Linked DNA regions of Homo sapiens: regions 1, 2, 3, 5, 6 and 7 are each linked to region 4. Evidence: promoter capture Hi-C in 16 types of primary human blood cells and fetal thymus (Javierre and others, 2016). All regions are on one chromosome and are shown on one strand. Each heading gives the region's core, a stretch centred on a gene start or on the middle of the fragment in contact. The rest is flanking DNA. Distances are from core to core; before and after follow the strand shown.

Region 1 (2,700 bases), core at 34-2,533, 390 kb before region 4:
AGAAGACCACTAGAAGATAAACTATAAGGCCAGGGGTGGTGACTCACGCCTTTAATCCCAGCACTTTGGGAGGCCGAGGTGGGCAGATCACTTGAGGTAGGGAGTTTGAGACCAGTCTGACCAACATGGAGAAACCTGGTCTGTACTAAAAATAGAAAATAATCCGGGAGTGGTAGCACATGCCTGTAATCCCAGCTACTTGGGAGTCTGAGGCAGAAGAATCACTTGAACCCAGGAGGCAGAGGTTGCAGAGAGCCGAGGTTGCAGTGAGCCGAGATCGCACCATTGCACTCCAGCCTGGGCAATAAGAGCAAAACTCCATCTCAAAAAAAAAAGAAGATAAACTATAAATATTAATACATCTAGCTGGGCACGGTGGCTCACACCTGTAATCCCAACACTTTGGGAGGCTGAGGCGGGCAGATCGCCTGAGGTCAGGAGTTCGAGACCATCCTGGCCAGCATGGTGAAACCCCGTCTCTACTAAAAATACAAAAATTAGCTGGGCGTGGTGGCAAACGGCTGTAATCCCAGCTACTTGGGAGGCTGAGGCAGGAGAATCGCTTCAACCCAGGAGGCGGAGGTTGCAGTGAGCCGAGGTCGCGTGCCATTGCACTCCAGCCTAGGCAACAGAGTGAATTCCGTCTCAAAAAAAAAAAAAAAAAAAATTAATACATCCGATTGTGGATAGCTGTGGGGGTCATTCTGTTATAATCTTTTTGCCCTGCAGGACTGAAAAGTGCAAGATTATATGGCTCAACAATAACCGTGACTGCACAGTTTTCAAAAAATCACTGGTATATCTGTCAGGGCAAACTGTTGGTAATGAAAAATAAGAAAAAGGGGCCAGGTGCAGTGGCTCATGCCTGTAATCCCAGCACTTTGGGAGGCTGAGGTGGGCAGATCACCTGAGATCAGGAGTTCGAGACCAGACTGGCCAACATGCTGAAACTCCATCTCTACTAAAAATACAAAATTAGCCGGCCGTGGTGGCAGGCACCTGTAATCCCAGCTACTCGGGAGGCTGGGGCAGGAAATTGCTTGAACCCGGGAGGCGGAGGTTGCAGTGAGCCAAGATCGTGCCATTGCACTCCAGCCTAGGCGACAAGAGCTAAACTCCATCTCAAAAAAAAAAAAACAAAAGAAAAAAATAATCACTCGTACATATTCAGACAATTTGTTTGTTGTATAGGATATCAAGACATATATTACCAACAGCTTCATTATTCACAATTGTCTGCATTGCTGAAATATTTTTGAATCCACTTTAAATATTCCAAATTTGATTTTGACTCAGCATTTCCAGTCGGCTTTAAAGACCAAAGTATTTTTATCAGCTTGAGGGGTGCTGGCAGGAAAGGGAGTGAAAGAGTGTTTAGGCCCTCATAGGTGGTTGAGGAGGTGGTTCAAATTGACTAGATGGTGGTAGTGGGTAAGATCGCCAGGAAATACTGGAACCCAGGGTCCCCAGGTTTTCAGGTTTTTGGGTATACGACGTGGAAATACTGTAACCCAGGGCCCTGGGTTTTCAGGTTTTTGGGTATACAACATGAAAAAATACCCACTTGAGACCCTTGAGTGTTGTTTCAAAAAGTTCCAGGAAGAAGCTGAGCCTCAGCAAAACAAAAACCAGCTGGATCCAGAGATGCCTGAGATGGATACAAAATGTGGCTAAGTCTTATTACCATACTAAAAACCCTCGCCCAGGTGTTATAGAACCTAACTGGGGTCCACTCACCTGCCTGACACAGTGAGGTTGTGCAGCAGTAGAAAGGAAGGCATGTATTTATTTTTTGTTATTTTTGGAGACAGAGTCTTGCTCTGTTGCCCAGGCTGGAGTGCAGTGGTGTGATCTCGGCTCACTTCAACCTCCGCCTCCTGGGTTCAAGTGATTTTCCTGCCTCAGCCTCCGGAGTAGCTGGGACTAGAGTTGCCAGCCACCACACCCAGCTAATTTTTGTATTTTTAGTAGAGATGGGGTTTTGCCATGTTGGCCAGGCTGGTCATGAACTCCTGGCCTCAAGTGATCCGACCACTTTGGCCTCCCAAAGTGCTGGGATTACAGGTATGAGCCACTGCACCTGAACTTGTTATTTTTCAAATGTTTTGTTTTGAGACAGGGTCTCATTCTGTTTCCCAGGCTGGAGTGCAGTGGCACGATGATGGCTCATGTAGCCTCAACCTCTTGGGCTCAAGCAATCCCCCTGCCTCAGCCTCCCAAGTAGCTGGGACTACAGAAGTGCACCATCATGCCCAGCTAATTTTTTAATTTTTTGTAGAGACAGGGTTTCGGCATTTTGCCCCTGATCTCGAACTCCTGGGATGGAGCAATCCTCCCGCCTTGCCCTCCCAAAGTGCTGGGATGAGAGGTGTGAGCCATCATGCACAGCTGAAGGCATCTATTTGCAAAGATGCAAAGCAAGGAGGATCAGGCAGCTCATGCCCAAATTCTGACCTCCCTGATGCCTTGCAGTTTTCTTTTTCTGTTCTTTTTTTTTTTTAAGGCTGGGGTAAATTTCAGGAAAGCCAAAGTTACAGGCAAAATTGTAAATCAATAGATGGAGGTTACACTTTGGTTCTGGCCTAAAAAGGCAGGATATCTTGAAATAAGGGCTTATAGTCATAGGTAGATTCAAAGATTTTTCTCATTTGCAATGGGTTAAGAGAAGCTTCGTTTAAATTTTGGGGACAGCAGAAGAGA
Region 2 (2,786 bases), core at 33-2,532, 500 kb after region 4:
TCCCACCTCAGCCTCTTGAGTAGCTGGGACTACAGGCGGATAGTAGTCTACATCTGGCTAGTTTTTGTAGTTTTAGAAGAGATGGGGTTTCACCATGTTGCCCAGGCTGGTCTCAAACTCCTGAGCTCAAGCAATCCACCCACCTCAGCCTCCGAAAGTCCTGGGATTACAGGCGTGAGCCACCGTGCCTGGCCAGTGGTCACACGTTTTGAATACATCCCTAGTCCTTGTATTGGTTTGATATGGGGAGAAGTTGGGAGTGGGATGGTGGAGAAAACTGAAGGGGTCAACTCGTGGGAGGCAACAATAAAAATATGGAACTTTATAAGTGATGTTCACTTGGTGTCTGAAATAATGAAAGGCGGTCCCTTTTATATAAGGCAAAGAACTAAGCTTTTTTGGGGAGGAAGGGGTGTGTAGTGGAAAAGTTACCCACGCTAAGTGTCAATTTTAACTACAAACCTTTGTTATTCTTTTGGTTACTTCCAGGGATTATCTTGAACACATAACCTCCATTGGCCCCAGGACTACAGGAAGTCCAGAAAATGAAATTCTGACCGTGCACTACCTTTTGGAACAGATTAAACTGATTGAAGTGCAAAGCAACAGCCTTCATAAGATTTCAGTAGATGTACAACGGCCCACAGGCTCTTTTAGCATTGATTTCTTGGGAGGTTTTACAAGCTATTATGACAACATCACCAATGTTGTGGTAAAGCTGGAACCCAGAGATGGAGCCCAGCATGCTGTCTTGGCTAATTGTCATTTTGACTCAGTAGCAAACTCACCAGGTATGTACCTGTTTTTTAGTCATTTGGAACTTGTCACAGCCCAGAAAGTTTATTAACATAACCCCAAGCTACTTGGGCAATTGTGGGGACCATTTTCTTGGGCAAACCTTTTTTCTTTGTGATGGAAAGCAGGATAATTAGGATAGTATCATTTAGTTTAGGATCTAACCATTCTGTCTTCTCTTAAGTGCTTTATTAATATTATTTTTTGGTGTTAATGCCAGCAGCCCAGTGATAAGACTTGGAATGTTTCTGGTAGACTGAAGCAGCTTTCTCAATGTTACCAGACAGTGTGTGTGTCCTAGTGTCCTGGAGTTAGGTTCTGACACTTAGAAAGTGTTTTACTCAGCTGGGTGTTATACTAGGCTTTGGGGATACCACATAAGGACAGTCCCTGCCTTCAAGGGTTACTGCATGGTTTTAGAGCAGGGGTGTCCAATCTTTTGGCTGCCCTGGGCCACATTGGAAGAAGAAGAATTGTCATGGGCCACACATAATATACACTAATGATGGCTGATGAGCTTAAAAAAAAAAACTCATGTTTTAAGAAAGTTTACAAATTTGTATTGGGCTGCATTCAAAGCTGTCCTGGGCTGCGGGTTGGCGGATATCTCTTCTAGCAGATTCTGTTGACCTATAAAGTGAGAATTTTGCTCCACTGAGGGTGCCATACTGTTAAAGTACCTAATTAATGTGTAAATCTTTCTCTGAAAATCATTTGGCAAAATAGAATACTTGCATTTAGGACAGTGCCTGATGCAGTATATATTTGTCAAATGAATGGGAATCCCCTAAATTGAACTTCCATTTATTAAAATATTTATTTTTCAGAAAATTGTATTCAGTGGTTAAAGGGATTGTAAATAGGGATGGAAAATAGCATTTACAATGGCATAGCATTTTAGTGGTAGACAAGACCTGAGATGGCATCTGGCTGAACCCCTCATTTGATACAGGAGTACATTTAGCTAGCTGGTCATCGCTGATCAGAGACAAAACTAGGATAAGATGCTGGATTTCCTGGCCAGTCAGTTCTTTCAGCTACATTTGAAAGGAAAAAGAATATTAGGGTGTAATTAATACTCCCTTTTGCAAATTGCTTAACTTCTTAGTTTCTCATCTGTGTAATGGAGAAAATAATAGTACTTTCCTAATAGTGTTGCTTGGAGGATTAAAAATAAGTAAAACGCTAAAATAGTACCTGGCATGGAAAGTGATTTTTAAAAGTTTTTATTAACTCTTATGTAATATTAACACTTCTGGATTACTCGAACTTATAGCAGGCCAAATTTGAACGTCTAGAGTTATACAAAATGTAAGTAAAATTTATTTGCTTGATAAAATGATTCATATTAGAATATCTTCATTTAGAAAGCTTGACAATTGCGTTTAGAATGTAACTTGCATTTTCAAAAATCAGTATACACACGTTTGTTAAATAAGCCAGAAGTACCTTCGTGTGCTGCTGGGGTAACCAGTGGTTTAGTGTTTTTTTTTTTTTTTTTTTGGCTGGGGGGCCAAGTCTCACTCTGTCACCAGGCTGGCATGCAGTGGCACAATCTTGGCTCACTGCATCCTCTGCCTCCCGGGTTTAAGCGATTCTCCTACTGTGCCACCACACTCGGCTGATTTTTTTTGTATTTTTGGCAGCGACAGGGTTTCACCATGTTGGCCAGGCTGGTCTTGAACTCCTGACCTCAAGTGATCCGCCTACCTCAGTCTCCCAAATTTCTGAGATTATAGGTGTGAGCCACTGTGCCCGGCCACCAGTGGTTTTTTTATGTCCATTTCAAAGCAGTAATAAATGTCACTCTTTGCCCACTATTATGATGCTTAAATTCTGGGAAGCGGCAAATAAACACCATGGTTGCTTAAGAACATTATATAAGAAGGCTGTATATACAAGAATTAGCAGCAAATGTAGGGACAAAAGAAAAAAGTTTCCCCTCTACCCTTCATAGTTCTTAGCTGAGTGGACCCCTGTAACAAAAGACA
Region 3 (2,741 bases), core at 150-2,649, 430 kb after region 4:
TAAAACATTTTCTCCAACTCAGCCCACAAAGAGAAAATAGAAATTAACACTGACTCATCTACTAAAAGCCAGGTGCTGTGCTAAACATTCATTAGCTTATTCAATTCTCACATCAACACTGGAGGGTAGACACAATTTATCATCCCCTATTTTCACAGAAGAGGAAATAAAAGGCAGAGGATACATGACTCGCTGGTGATCATACAGAGCTAGCACAAAACAGAGGCTGGATTTGAACCTGAATCCGTCTCAATTATGTTCGTGCCCTCCCTTCCCTAAACTCCCCGCTTTGCTCCTTGCAGCCCTAGGGAGAAGTGTCTGGGCTGAACCTACAGCAAAGCTGTGGCATTACTTATTGAGAAGGATCTTGTCTAAGCAGCAGGGTGCCAATCTGGGGGTCTACACCAGCCTCTTGGGCCCTGTGTTCAGTGACCCCTGGGAAGCATTACAGTTACCACAAAGTTACCACAAAGACCCTGGAAACAGGGCCTGGAGCTGTTCACTCCGGGCAAGCATCATCAATTAGCTAACATCTGCCTGATCACAGCATGATCAAAATCGACAGAACTGACTCTGTTATCTGTGGTTGTCAACTCGCTAAGAAAGTTTCTGCAGAGCTGAGTGACTTACAAGAGACTGAGCAGCTACAGGAGAAGCAAGGTTTAACTAAGGCTTCTGCTGGAGAGACTTTTGCTCAGTACCATCTACTGGACAACTTCTGTCTCAAGGCTGAGGAGACATCAAGCTTATCCTGTCCGTCTCCAAACAGGATAGAGCGAACCATGGGATGACAGTGCTAGATGGAAACTCTGACTTATGTAGGTCAGTCCACCCGCTTTATAGATCAGGAAGCTGAGACCTATGAAGATTCATCAACATTACCATAACCATAGTGACTACCATTCATTGAGCACCAATTTGTGCCAGGCACTGGGCTAGGCACCCCCACATATATGCTTTTATTTCATCCTAACCACAGTCCTCGGAGTTAGGAATGATGTTCATTTTACAGCTGACATTATGCTGGTCAAGTGCCCAGGGCTGCACAACCAGCAAGTGGCAGAACCAACATTCACAGCAACTGGAACGGGAGACCAAGCAAGTGAGCACCAGAATTTGGGCCAGATCCAGGTCTCCCAGGCCAGTGCTTTTCCTGCAGAGTCACTCTTTCCTGAACTGAAGCTGTCACAAGGAGTGTTCAGTGTGTTCTCGTGACTGAAGGCAGCTGATTCAACTCCCAACATGCCTGTGCTCTCATTTTACCCTGTGGCGTCCACTTGAATATCTTGACACAGTCAGAGCTCTGTTACAGCACTTTATGCATGGTCACGTGGTACTCACAACATGCCCAAGTAACTGAGAGCGAAAAGCACCAGGGTATGCCTGACACATTGGAAGAACCCACTGCCCAGCTTGGCAGGGCGCCTCAGAGTGTCTTCCAAATACCACCTGCAGCAGAATCACCTGAGATGCACGTTAAGGTGCAGATCATAGGACTCCACCCCTGGCCTACCCAATCAGCCTCTTAGGTGGCAGCACCTAGAAATCTGCATTTTAACAAGTTCCATGGATGACTTGTGTCCACCCAACTGTGAGAACTGCTCTCCACTGAGGTTTCAAAGAGATACATAATACCCAAAGCAGGTATGTAGTCCTTCTTGGCTGGATGTGGGAACTTATTTTGCATCATTCTTCTTCATTCCACCTGCTGGCACAATTGTGAGAAGGATAAATATTCTCAGATCTTAGGGATGCATTGTTTTAATGAAGATTGCCCCATTGTGCAGGATCTGGATTTTATGCAAAAAAATTAAAAAAAAAAAAAGAAGATGGCCCCATTCCCCTACCTCCATCCCACCTATTTAAACAAACAGCAATGGGGGCAGGGACTTTTCATGAGAGGAATGACTTTTGACATTGGTGGCCATGTGCAGTTACTTATTTTCTGGACCGATCTCCTTCAGTACCTGCACAAGATGATGATGTTCCATGTATTCAGGGGTTCCTACACTCACAGACTGAAGTTAAGTGTTTCATTGTGCTGGAAGCTTTGGCCATCTGACCCTTCTACAGACAGCAAAATGTCAAAAGGAATTACTTTCTCTTTAAAGGATAGCTCCCACGCATACGGGTTGAGTGGGTATTTTTCTTTTGTGCTGGAATCCAGAGGCTCCCTCTTGTTCTCAAGGAAAATGTCAGATAACCCACCTGACCCTGCTTATGCACGTCATTCAGGTTGCAAGACACAGAAAGCTTGTGCCTTCAGTCAAGGGGTTCCTTCACATGATAGTGGTCATAACCCCCTTTGCCCTTTATTAAGCCATTGTCCCTCAACTCCAAACCTACCTTTCTATGCTCTGCTCTGTGATGCTGGGACTGGACTCTGCAAATGCCACTTCTCCTTTGCCCACTGGCTCCCATTAGAGTACTCTAGAGGGTGCCTACAAACCTGGGGCATCAAGAAGGAGCAGCTCCTTCCAGTGTGCTTCTGGCTCCTGTCAGGATCACCCCAGCAATGCTCACATTGTCTGTATATGCCAAGCACCAGCTCGTTTTCCGGCATTGTCAGAGCCAGCTTCATTATGCCCCTCCCCAGCAGAGCACTGGCTGACCTCAGAGGCCTGAGTATTTGATTCATGCCCCTCACTTCTAAGCTCTTGAGACACCAGAACCAGCCAAACAAAAATCTCTCCTTAGAGATCTGGGTCCCATTTCTGTGGCGTCCCTCCTCCCAACTCTAG
Region 4 (2,700 bases), core at 112-2,611:
TAGTGCACTACCACTATTTTCCCCTCTTTTTCTGAGTCTCAGAGAAGATGAAGTTTTCTTGATCATCTTTTTAAAATAAAAGTTGTAGGCCAGGTGAAGCTTTCAAGGTGACTTTGAGACTGAGGGAAGGAAGGAAATGGGGAAGGGAAAACAAACAAACAAACCAAAAAAACACTACAGATTACTTCATACCTCTTTCAAGCTTAAACAGAACTCTACTTTGGCTTTCTAATAAGCTAGTTTTCCAAAAGAGAGTTTGGGCTTTGGCCTAAGACCCCTCTGGAGCCACTGACTTGCCCATTAGATACAGTCTCAGGAAAGCTAATATAATGGCACATTTCGTCTACAAACTTAAGTGAAAAATAACCAGGTACAAAACTTTGGGTTCTCTATCTTAAAAGCAGCAAATATCTGTGTTCTTTTCTCAAAACTGGATTCTGTCAATTTCCTGAATTAACCACTTTACCATTGTGGTTTGCTTGCTTGTTTTTGTTGGGCAGAGTTGCAAATGTAATAAGGGAAGGGGGTCCTTGCACTGGTTTAGTACCAGGCAAGGTTACCAAGGGGGCTCATTCTGGTTCCAGAAAGTGGAGATGGTCATCCTCACTCTCCAGAACTGGGAGTGGCTCATTCCCACTCCCCGGAATCTGGAGTGGGTCTTCCCCACACCCCAAAACTGAGAGCAGATCAACCCCACCCTCCGCAGAAGAAAGACAGTCAGGGCCAAGCTCTTTTGCCCCCTGAGACTTTGGACTTGATTGTCCCCATCAGACCTTCAAAAGATCTGAATGTGGCCGACTTCTTCACGCCTCCAAGCTTCCTGCAGATGAGAGTGCCCATGGTGGACAGAGCAGCTGATGTCTTCTGTTTCACATAGGTGTTGGAGACCTGAACATCAAGCCAGCTCTTGGACAGATTCTGTCTCAGCCCTACCAAGGCGGTGAGGCCTAACTTCCTCTTGAGTTCCCCACAGCGTCTCTCTTTGGCTGCTAGTACGTGGCGTAGGGTTACAATTTCAGCCTCCAATTTAGTGAGTTTGGTTTTGAGCTCTCTTTGCTCGGGCTCTGTCAGATCCTCCAGTTCAGAAGTCGAGTGGGATTCATATGTGCCCACAGAGGTCTCTGTCCTGGCATGTGGCATGGACTGGGAAAGAAGATCTTCGTTAAGAGAGTCCAGGTCCAATTCTTGGTAGAAAGAGTCGAATTATTGGGCTGCAGAGAAATAATCTTGGCCAGCAGAGTCGAAATCTAGGCCTGCAGGCTCAGACTCTTGGCAGGTGGAGTCAGATTTCAGGCGGGAGGGATCCATGGCCCAGCTGGTACAATGGACACCTTGACAGTTGAGTTGACGACCTGGCCTGTGAAGTAGACACGCTAGCTCGTGGTGTTCACTTCCGGGTGGTGGGGGTGGGGAGCCGGGCTGGTCAGGGTTGCGGAGGTGGGACTTCCCGCCCAAACCGCGAGGCTGTAGAATCAGTGCTCAGCTGAGGCGCAACCCACACTGGCGGCATTTTGGCATTGCGAGGACCTCCTGAGGTAGGCAGTGCAGAGATTATTGTCGAAAAGAGAGGAATTTCTCCTGACATGGTAAATGACAAGCCCTGGCCTTCAAACCAAAGCGTCAGGCAACTGTTTTCCACCACACCAGCTCCAACACTTGAAAATCATTTAAACATCATTGTGCTAGTATGAATTTTCAGTTTTGCAGTTGCATTTTCTTTATTCCGCCCTACCTCCACTCACATTTCTGGAAGCATGTCTGCCTACATTCAAGGTTACCTGTTGTGGGAGGTAGTCTGCACAGTAAAGTAAAACTAGTTAAATAGGATCTATCAGAGTGTGGATCCACTCTCCCCTGCCAACCTGCCACCCCAACCTCCCCCCAACCGTAATTCTGCCGAGAGTAAACTTATGCAATGGAAAAATCAGGACGTTAATCCAGTGAGGTCTTGTGGTCGAGCTTCACTTAGCTCATTCTATGGCTGCCTATTCTCAGAGAATATTCTTGAGCAAGTCTTAGACTCTAGTGATTTTGTTGGATATTCTTGTAATTCTTGCGAGCATGATCTTGTGGAACATAATTTGATCCTCAGCAAATTTCAGCAGTTTGCCCTACTCATGCCTATGTGGCTACAATGAAGCATCCAGCTGTGCATTCAAACCAACTTCAGCCCTCCTTTGAGTTTATGTTCTATAACCCTTTCACATAATTTAGTAGTGTTTATTATTGCCTTGTCCTGAGTGGTGTGTTTCCCTAAGTTAAAAAGTGAGAATTGTTCTTGTAAACATGAAGGCTGATGGAGGATTTGGCTATGTGTTTAAAGGCCTGAAAAGGGCAGCAAGGACTCCCTAAAAACCAATTTGTTCCAGAGGGTAGACTTTTCCTCTATTGCCTGTAGAAACACTAGTGGTTTCAGGAACACTCCCAGACTCTGAATCAGAACTCCTCTTTCAAACCTGAGACTAAAGGGTAAAGAAATCCCTGAATTATGCTACATAATATAGAACACACATTGTCTCTTCAAAGTTGAGACTCCAAATCACCAAATCTGAACTTGCACTTGATTTTACTTCTCTGTATTATTTCAACCACCAACCTTGATGCCTATTTTCTTTATAAGCTTCCTCATCCTTCAGTGTATACTATGAAATCTTTTATTAAGCCTTGATTCCTTTTGACAGAGAATGGTTTTTTTTCTCA
Region 5 (2,777 bases), core at 189-2,688, 330 kb before region 4:
TCCCAGCACTTTGGGAGGCCAAGGCGGGCGGATCACGAGGTCAGGAGATCGAGACCATCCTGGCTAACACGGTGAAACCCCGTCTCTACTAAAAATACAAAAAAAATTAGCTGGGCGTGGTGGTGGGAACCTGTAATCACAGCACTTTGGGAGGCCGAGGCGGGCGGATCACGAGGTCAGGAGATCGAGACCATCCTGGCTAACACGGTGAAACCCCGTCTCTACTAAAAATACAAAAAAAATTAGCTGGGCGTGGTGGTGGGAACCTGTAATCACAGCACTTTGGGAGGCCGAGGCGGGCGGATCACGAGGTCAGGAGATCGAGACCATCCTGGCTAACACGGTGAAACCCCGTCTCTACTAAAAATACAAAAAAAATTAGACGGGCGTGGTCGCGGGCATCTGTAATCCCAGCTACTTGGGAGGTTGAGGCAGGAGAATGGAGTGAACCCGGGAGGCGGAGCTTGCAGTGAGCAGAAATCGCCCCACTGCACTCCAGCCTGGGCGACAGAGCAAGACTCCGTCTCAAAAAAAAAAAAAAGGCCCGGCGCGGTGGCTCACGCCTGTAATCCCAGCACTTTGGAAGGCTGAGGCGGGCGGATTACGAGGTCAGGAGATCGAGACCGCGGTGAAACCCCGTCTCTACTAAAAATACAAAAAAAAAAATTAGCCGGGCGCAGTGCAGGCGCCTGTATTCCCAGCTACTCGGGAGGCTGAGGCAGGAGAATGGCGTGAACCCGGGAGGCGGAGCTTGCAGTGAGCCAAGATCGCGCCACTGCACTCCAGCCTGGGCGACAGAGCGAGACTCCGTCTCAAAATAAATAAATAAATAAATAAAAATAAAAATAAAAAAGAAAAGCAGAACCTCCCTGGCAGATAGGTGTGTAAGTGGGTCTTTTTGAAAACCTGTGTAAAAGGATGCCTAGGTGCTGACTTGTTTCTTCCTAATGGTCCAACCTCTAGCATTCGTGCTCAGCCTAGGGTCTGAGTGGCTGCTCCTGACCTGGATCTTGCAGGAGGAGTTTGCGGAGGTTACACAACTTGCTCAATACCTAGGGGACTGGCATCAAATCAGCCCATCCATGATATTTAATATAAAGATATGTATCAGAGATTAGGGGGTGGCTAAAGTACCCCCCAATTCTCTTATTCTGTACCAGACATTACTCTGGATTTATAATACTCACATCTTTTGAATGATATAGTTTTTGCCATTTGATATCTTGTGAGCATTTATTACAAGATTTCAGCCCAGTAAACGACCAAAGAGGTCTTGATCTTATTGCATCATGTTGATTTACCCAAGTTAGGAACATTGTGATAAAAGCAAATAAAAATAGCAGTCTCTTTAAATATTTGGGTTTGCAAAGACTAACACTCTGGTAGTATAAGAAGAAGAAGGGAAGGAAATGATGACTTATTCAAAACTCACAATGACTGTATTTTACAAATGAGAAACAGAGGCAGAATAAAGTTAAGTAAACTGCTACAATGTACATTTTCAGTAAGTGGCAGAGCCGGGACTCATCCATAGGGATCTTGGTCAGGACTGAGATCCAGCTCCCATTCCCACAGCAAATCACGATTTACTTGGGGTAGCCCCCTGACTTGGCCAGGGCATGAATGTCTTCTGTGCGATTTTTTTTTCCATTAAAAAACACATTGGGCCAGGTGCAGTGGCTCACACCTGTCATCCCAGCACTTTGGGAGGTCAACGGGGGCTGACTGCTTGAGGCCAGGAGTTCGAGACCAGCCTGGGGAACATGGTGAAACTCCATCTCTACAAAAAATATAAAAATTAGCTGGGCATGGTGGTGAGCACCTGTAGTCCTAGCTTCCCAGTGGGGAGGGCAGGTGCTGCTGAGGCGGGAGGATTGCTTGATTCCGGGAAGGCAAGGTTGTGGTGAACCAAGATCGCACCACGGCACTCCAGCTTGGGCAATGGAGCAAGACCCAGTCTCAAAACAAAACAAAACTAAAAAAATCCATTGCATTAAAAAAAAGTTTTATTAAAAACAACAACAACACACTTCAAAGCTGGGAGTGGTGGCATGTGCCTGTATTTCCAGCTACTTGGAAGGCTGAAATGGGAATATCTTTTGAGCCTAGGAGTCAGAGGCTACAATAAGCTATGATCATGTCACTGTACTCCAGCCTGGGTGACAGAGGGAGATCCTGTCTTTAAAACCACACAAAAAAATTGGTTGGGCGTGGTGGCTCACGCCTGTAATCCCAGCACTTTGGGAGGCCGAGAAAGGCGGATCACCTGAGGTCAGGAGTTTGAGACCAGCCTGGCCAACACAGTGAAACCCCGGGTCTACTAAAATAGAAAAATTAGCCAGGTTATGGTGGCATGGGCCTGTAGTCCCAGCCACTCAGGAGGCTGAGGCAGGAGAATCGCTTGAAACCGGGAGGCGGAGGTTGCAGTGAGCCGAGATCGCGCCACTGCACTCCAGTCTGGGCAACAGTATTGTTTTTGAGACACAGTCTTGCTCTATCACCCAGGCTGGAGTGCAATGGTGCGATCTCAGCTCACTGCAACCTTCGCCTCCAGGTTCAAGTGATTCTTCTGCCTCAGCCTCCTGAGTAGTTTGGATTACAGATGCCCACCACCATGCCCGGCTAGTTTTTGTATTTTTAGTAGAGACGGGGGTTTCACCATGTTGGTCAGGCTGGTCTCGAACTCCAAGCCTCAGGTAATCTGCCCGCCTTGGCCTCCCAAAGTGCTGGGATCACAGACATGAGCCACCAGGCCTGGGGGTAAAAAATTTAAATAT
Region 6 (2,700 bases), core at 142-2,641, 450 kb after region 4:
AGGGATCAGGTAGAAACTGAAATTGCCCAAGGTCAGAGTCATGTTTTCTAATTTCTTCCTGACCATGTCTGTGTGGGGAAAACTAATTCAGACTTTTTAAGAGCTAAAGAACTTCAGTGTTTTTTTGTTTGTTTGTTTTTTGTTTTTGTTTGTTTGTTTGAGACAGAGTCTCACTCTGTTGCCGAGGCTGGAGTGCAGTGGCGGGATCTCAGCTCACTGCAACCTCCGTCTCCCAGGTTGAAGCAGTTCTCTCCTGCATCAGCCTCCTGAGTAGCTGGGATTACAGGCGCGTGCCATGACGCCCGGCTAATTTTTGTGTTTTTAGTAGAGACAGGGTTTCACCATGTTGGTCCGGCTGGTCTCTAACTCTTCACCTTGTGATTCGCCCACCTCAGCCTCCCAAAGTGCTGGGATTTGGCTTGTTTTTTTATTTTTTATTTTTAAAGAAACTTCTGGTGGGGTGTGATGGCTCACACCTGTAATCCCAGCACTTTGGGAGGCTGAGGTGGACAGAACTCTTGAGGTCAGGAGTGAGACCAGCCTGGCCAACATGGTGAAACCCTGTCTCTACTAAAAATAAAAAAAGTTAGCTGGGCATGGTGCTGTGTGCCTGTAATCCCAGCTACTTGGGAGGTTGAAGTTGGAGAATCTCTGGAACCCGGGAGGCGGAGGTTGCAGTGAGCTGAGATCATACCACTGCACTCCAGCTTGGGAGACAGAGCGAGATTCTGTCTCAGAAAGAAGTAAGTTCTACGTAGCATTTTTGTCTTGTTACATTAAAAAATAATTCAGTAGAACTGACTTATTATCTGACAGGGAGATCCGAGCTATGGGATTTTTTAGAATTATAGTCAGAGGTCGGATAAATCCATTATCTCTGACATTCTGCAGGTAAATAAGCTAGAACCTAGAGAGGCTGACCATGTGAGTCAGATTATCTGGTTCTGTATCTCTGCATTTCCTTCCAGTGAGTCATCCCTGAGCTCATTTAATTGGTCCAGCCCAGTGTCTGCTTGTCAGTTAATTAAGAGAAGCTTCAAGGGCCCAAGCATATCTTAAAGAGCCAGCGGTGGCCACCAGACCAGTGTGGGCGGTCATCAAGGGTCAGGTTCCTTTGGGGCCGCTGGCATTGGGGATTGGGATTGGGTTGATCATGGGTCAACCAGCCCTTTAGGGATGAAAAGGAGGCAGGGTCTCAAGGGGACAATGCCTGCCAGCAGCCGGCTGTGTGGGGGCTGCAACTCCCATCAGGCTTTGATGTGTTTCTTTTTTCTCTTTTTCTTTCTCTCTTTTTTTTTTGAGACAGAGTCTTGCTCTGTTGCCCTTCCCAGGCTGGAGTGCACCATCACACCCGGATAATTTTTTTATTTTTAGTAGAGATGGGGTTTCACCATGTTGGCCAGGCTGGTCTCGAACTCCTGACCTAAAGTGATCTGCCCACCTCAGCCTCCTAAAGTGCTGGAATTACAGGTGTGAGCCACCGCACCCAGCCTGATGTGTTTCTTGATGTTTCTTTGTATTCTTCTGGAAGTCCCTCTGATGTTTAGCAAAGTCTTTGTAATATTTCAGCCAGCATCAGCTCTACTGTGAGTTTTAATGAGGCGTCAGAACAACCCTGGAAGTCAATAGATGGCAACAGCAGAGAGTAAAGTGAGAACTCCATGGGGGAGAAGAAACCCTCAGGAGAGGCAGGAGCTCTGGCATCAACCATCTCTCTGCCCAGAATCTCCTTCCAAGTTGAAGCTTCAGGAGTTTGGGTTCTTCCAGGGTACATTATTGGTCCGATAAGATTGGAAAACACTGAACTAAATAAAGTTAAACAGGTTTCTTCATTACAAACTCTTCTAACATCCTTAATCTACTGATATACCTTATGAATCTTCAAGAGAAGACAGTTGCATTGCCAGCAGAGTTTCTCGAACTATTTAATTATGAAGAAAGTGTTTGTTGGCTTTGGTGCTCCAAGAAACACTCTTTGGGCCACATCATTATGAAGAGTCATTATAGATCCCACCTCTTGTGTGATTGATGGGCCTATTCCTCGAAGTAGTTAACAAAGAGACTAAAATGTAATCCCTTTCCACAAGGAGCTCAGCCCATAAATATCTACTAAATGTATGTCTTCTTACTGAGTGCCAGAAACTGAGCAAACTGATTATTACATGGATTATTTCATATTCTTCTCAAATCCTCACAGCAGCGCTGTCAGGTAGGTGTGATTATTACACCCCTTTTACAGAGGAGAATGAGGCTCATGAGTTTAGATAATTTAGGATTACATAAGTAGTAACTGGCAAATGGCCCAACTCCCATTCTTATACATGGTGCCTCCCCAAGGGGGACACTTCTCAGGAACTAAACACAGTCCAGCATAAGATGCCTTTTAAGTATGGTTGCTCTTCCCCAGGGTCGGTTATTTATTTAGTAACATTGGTTCCAGGGACCCTCCATGTTGATTATTCCTTAATGTTCTCAGGAGCAGGGACTGACTCATTCACCTTTCCATTATCAGTAGGGACTCAATAGATATTTCTTGAATGAATAAAAGTAAATAAATAAATGAAGACACTGATTTTTAACTGGTCCTGGTGATAAATAATTTCTAACAGAGGCATTGCCCAGATCCTTTCAACTAGTCCATAACATTTCTTGAGCTCCTATGATATGCCAAGGACTGGATTCAGTAGTCACCAAAGCTTG
Region 7 (2,700 bases), core at 195-2,694, 360 kb before region 4:
CAGCAATTTGGGAGGCCGAGGCAGATGGATTACCTGAGGTCAAGAGTTCGAGACCAGCCTGGCTAACATGGTGAAACCCCGTTTCTACTAAAAATACAAAAATTAGCTGGGTGTGGTGGTGCACGCCTGTAGTCCCAGCTACTCAGGAGGCTGAGGCAGGAGAATTGCTTGAACCCAGGAGGCGGAGGTTGCAGTGAGCCAGATCGCACCACTGCATTCCAGCCTGGGTGACAAAGCAAGACTCTGTTTCAAAAATAAATAAATAAAAATAAAAAATAAATAAAAATAGCTAGGCATCGTGGCATGCTTGTAGTCCCAGCCACTCAAGAGGCTGAGGCAGGATTCCCTGAGCCCAACAGCTCAAGGCTGCAGTGAACTATGATTGTGTCACTGCACTCCAGTCTGGGAGACAGAGTGAAATCCTGTCTCTAACAAAAAAAAGAAAGGCCTGAAAACCATTTTTTTTTATTTTGAGACAGATTCTCATTCTGTCACCTAGACCGGTGTGCACTGGTGCGATTTCGGCTCACTGAAACCTCCATCTCCCGGGTTCAAGTGATTCTCATTCCTCAGCCTCCTGAGTAGCTGCAATTACAAATGTGTGTCACCACACCCAGCTAATTTTTGTATTTTTAGTAGAGACGCGGTTTCACCATGTTGCCCAGGCTGGTCTTGAACTCCTGACCTCAAGTGATTCACCTGCTTTGGCGTCCCAAAGTGCTAGGATTACAGGCATGAGACACTGTGCCCAGCCAATAATTAAAAATTTAAAAAAGAACACACACACACACACACAATAAAAAGAGCCTGGAATGTTACAAGTGTATTATAGTTTATTGAAGTAAAAATTACATTTATGACATCATGAACAATTGTCTTATGACACAGTGACAAGGCTTGAAATTTAAAAAAGGAAAAAAGGGAACAATTGTCTGTTTGCCAGTCAACTAAAATACATACTGCTGGCCGGGCATGGTGGCCCATGCCTGTAAGCCCAGCACTGTCAAACCAATGATCTCTTTTTTTGATAAATGATTTATTAATGAATCACATTCTCTAAAATATTCCAAATCAGAAAATGTTGGGTTAAATACTTGTCAAGTTTCACAAGGTGATTAAATATACAATTGTGGGGTCCCACTCAGAACACTGGAGTTAGTATAAAGATTATTTTAAGCTGAAGACATTTGAGATGGAACAGATGCAGAAAGAAGCTTCCTTGGGACTTCCCTTATTTGATTAAAAGTAGAAACTTCTGAGAAATGAGGACGGACATAAATTTCCTGTTTGGGGTGGCTTCTACTCCCAGGGGAGAGACCCAGAATAAACCTACCATAAATCCCCTCTCTGGCAGTTTTATGAACCTGAAAAAGACCACTCACACCTATATAAGAAAGTTTGGTTTGTGATAATGTTTGCATGTCTCCCATTTGTTCTTCTAAAAACACATTTGTCTTTTTTAGAGAAACCTATTTGTCCTTCCTATAGAAGTCCTTTTTGGCTAGGCGCGTTGGCTCAAGCATGTAATCCCAGCACTTTGGAAGGCTGAGGCAGGCAGATCACCTGAGGTCAGGAGTTCAAGACCAGCCTGGCCAATGTGGTGAAACCCTGTCTCTACTAAAAATACAAAAATTAACTGGGCATGGTGGCAGGCACCTGTAATCCCAAGCTTCTTGGGAGACTGAAACAGGAGAATCGCTTGAACCTGGGAGGCAGAGGTTGCGGTGAGCTGAGACTGCGCCACTGCACTCCAGCCTGAGCAACATAGTGAGACCCTGTCTCAAAAAAAAGAAAAAAGTCCAGGCCGGGCACGGTGGTTCATGCCTGTAATCCCAGCACTTTGGGAGGCTGAGGCGGGAGGATCACGAGGGCAAGAGATTGAGACCATCCTGGCCAACATGGTTAAACCCTGTCTCTACTAAAAATACAAAAATTAGCTGACCGTGGTGGTGTGCACCTGTAATCCCAGCTACTCAGGAGGCTGAGGCAGGAGAATTGCTTGAACCTGGGAGGCAGAGGTTGCAGTGAGACAAGATGGCACCACTGTACTCCATCCTGGTGACAGAGTGAGGCTCCGTATCAAAAACAAAAAAAAATTAGCAGGGTGTGGTGGTTCACGCCTGTAGTCCCAGCTACTTGGGGGGCTGAGGTGAGAGGATCACTTGAGCCTGGTCAAGGTTGAGGTTGCAGTGAGCTGTGTTTGTACCACTGCACTCCAACCTGGACAACAAAGTGAGACCCTGTCTCCAAAAACAAAAATGTAGGTAAATACCATCATTTGTGACAAGATGGATGAATCTGGAAAACATTATGCTAAGTGAAATAAGCCAGGTATAGAAAGACAAATACTACATGATCTCACTTATATGTGGAATCCAAACATGTCAAATTCATAGCAGCAGATAGTAGAATGATGGCTACCAGAGGCTGGGGAGAGTGGAGACGAGGAGAATGGGGAATTGTTAATCAAAGGGTGCAAAATTTCAGATAGAAGGCTTTGAGATTTACTGCACAATAGAGTGACTATAATCAATAATGATGTAGTTTTATCTAGCCATCTAAAATGGAGAGATGAATCGTTCTGCCTATACAAACAAGTCAGTTATTAGAGGGTGGTTGAGGTATGCTACTCAGAAGATTTCAGGGTGTCTTCCAGCTGAAATCTCAATGTTCTCAGTATGAAAAACCTGAAATCAGATG

The links. Contacts are between HindIII fragments. The CHiCAGO score rates a contact against its expected background, and 5 or more counts as called.
Region 1: a contact is called between a fragment that was not itself captured here and the fragment with the promoter of TPD52L3 in region 4, in 1 of 17 cell types (endothelial precursors). The highest score is 5.9, in endothelial precursors.
Region 2: a fragment that was not itself captured here is called in contact with the fragment with the promoter of TPD52L3 in region 4 in 1 of 17 cell types (endothelial precursors); the score reaches 5.2 in endothelial precursors.
Region 3: a contact is called between a fragment that was not itself captured here and the fragment with the promoter of TPD52L3 in region 4, in 1 of 17 cell types (endothelial precursors). The highest score is 6.8, in endothelial precursors.
Region 5: a fragment that was not itself captured here is called in contact with the fragment with the promoter of TPD52L3 in region 4 in 1 of 17 cell types (endothelial precursors); the score reaches 7.3 in endothelial precursors.
Region 6: a fragment that was not itself captured here is called in contact with the fragment with the promoter of TPD52L3 in region 4 in 1 of 17 cell types (endothelial precursors); the score reaches 6.3 in endothelial precursors.
Region 7: a contact is called between a fragment that was not itself captured here and the fragment with the promoter of TPD52L3 in region 4, in 1 of 17 cell types (endothelial precursors). The highest score is 5.4, in endothelial precursors.

What each region holds. Positions count from the first base shown.
Region 1 is chr9:6,718,019-6,720,718 of GRCh38, reverse strand. It overlaps LOC124902117 (a long non-coding RNA gene), which reads right to left. Exons shown (of 4, transcript XR_007061412.1): 2 at 1,738-2,700; 3 at 1,565-1,648; 4 at 255-297. Among named protein-coding and RNA genes, the nearest start is that of LINC02851, 15 kb to the right of the region's middle. The HindIII fragment of the contact is 2,775 bases long and covers 1-2,670 here.
Region 2 is chr9:5,828,732-5,831,517 of GRCh38, reverse strand. ERMP1 (endoplasmic reticulum metallopeptidase 1) reads left to right here. Exons shown (of 15, transcript NM_024896.3): 2 at 490-791. Among named protein-coding and RNA genes, the nearest start is that of ERMP1, 3.0 kb to the left of the region's middle. The HindIII fragment of the contact is 1,773 bases long and covers 396-2,168 here.
Region 3 is chr9:5,894,468-5,897,208 of GRCh38, reverse strand. All of the region lies in intron 2 of MLANA (melan-A), which reads right to left. It also overlaps a transcript of BRD10 not described here. Among named protein-coding and RNA genes, the nearest start is that of MLANA, 4.9 kb to the right of the region's middle. The HindIII fragment of the contact is 1,303 bases long and covers 748-2,050 here.
Region 4 is chr9:6,327,036-6,329,735 of GRCh38, reverse strand. TPD52L3 (TPD52 like 3) reads right to left here and starts at 1,361. Exons shown (of 2, transcript NM_001001874.3): 1 at 774-1,361. The coding sequence starts at 1,140. LOC107987046 (a long non-coding RNA gene) reads left to right here and starts at 1,468. Exons shown (of 3, transcript XR_001746614.2): 1 at 1,468-1,535. The HindIII fragment of the contact is 1,804 bases long and covers 819-2,622 here.
Region 5 is chr9:6,657,386-6,660,162 of GRCh38, reverse strand. No RefSeq gene overlaps it. Among named protein-coding and RNA genes, the nearest start is that of GLDC, 13 kb to the right of the region's middle. The HindIII fragment of the contact is 7,884 bases long and covers 1-2,777 here.
Region 6 is chr9:5,877,973-5,880,672 of GRCh38, reverse strand. It overlaps a transcript of BRD10 not described here. Among named protein-coding and RNA genes, the nearest start is that of MLANA, 12 kb to the left of the region's middle. RefSeq lists an enhancer at 551-1,052. The HindIII fragment of the contact is 709 bases long and covers 1,037-1,745 here.
Region 7 is chr9:6,688,700-6,691,399 of GRCh38, reverse strand. No RefSeq gene overlaps it. Among named protein-coding and RNA genes, the nearest start is that of LINC02851, 14 kb to the left of the region's middle. The HindIII fragment of the contact is 455 bases long and covers 1,217-1,671 here.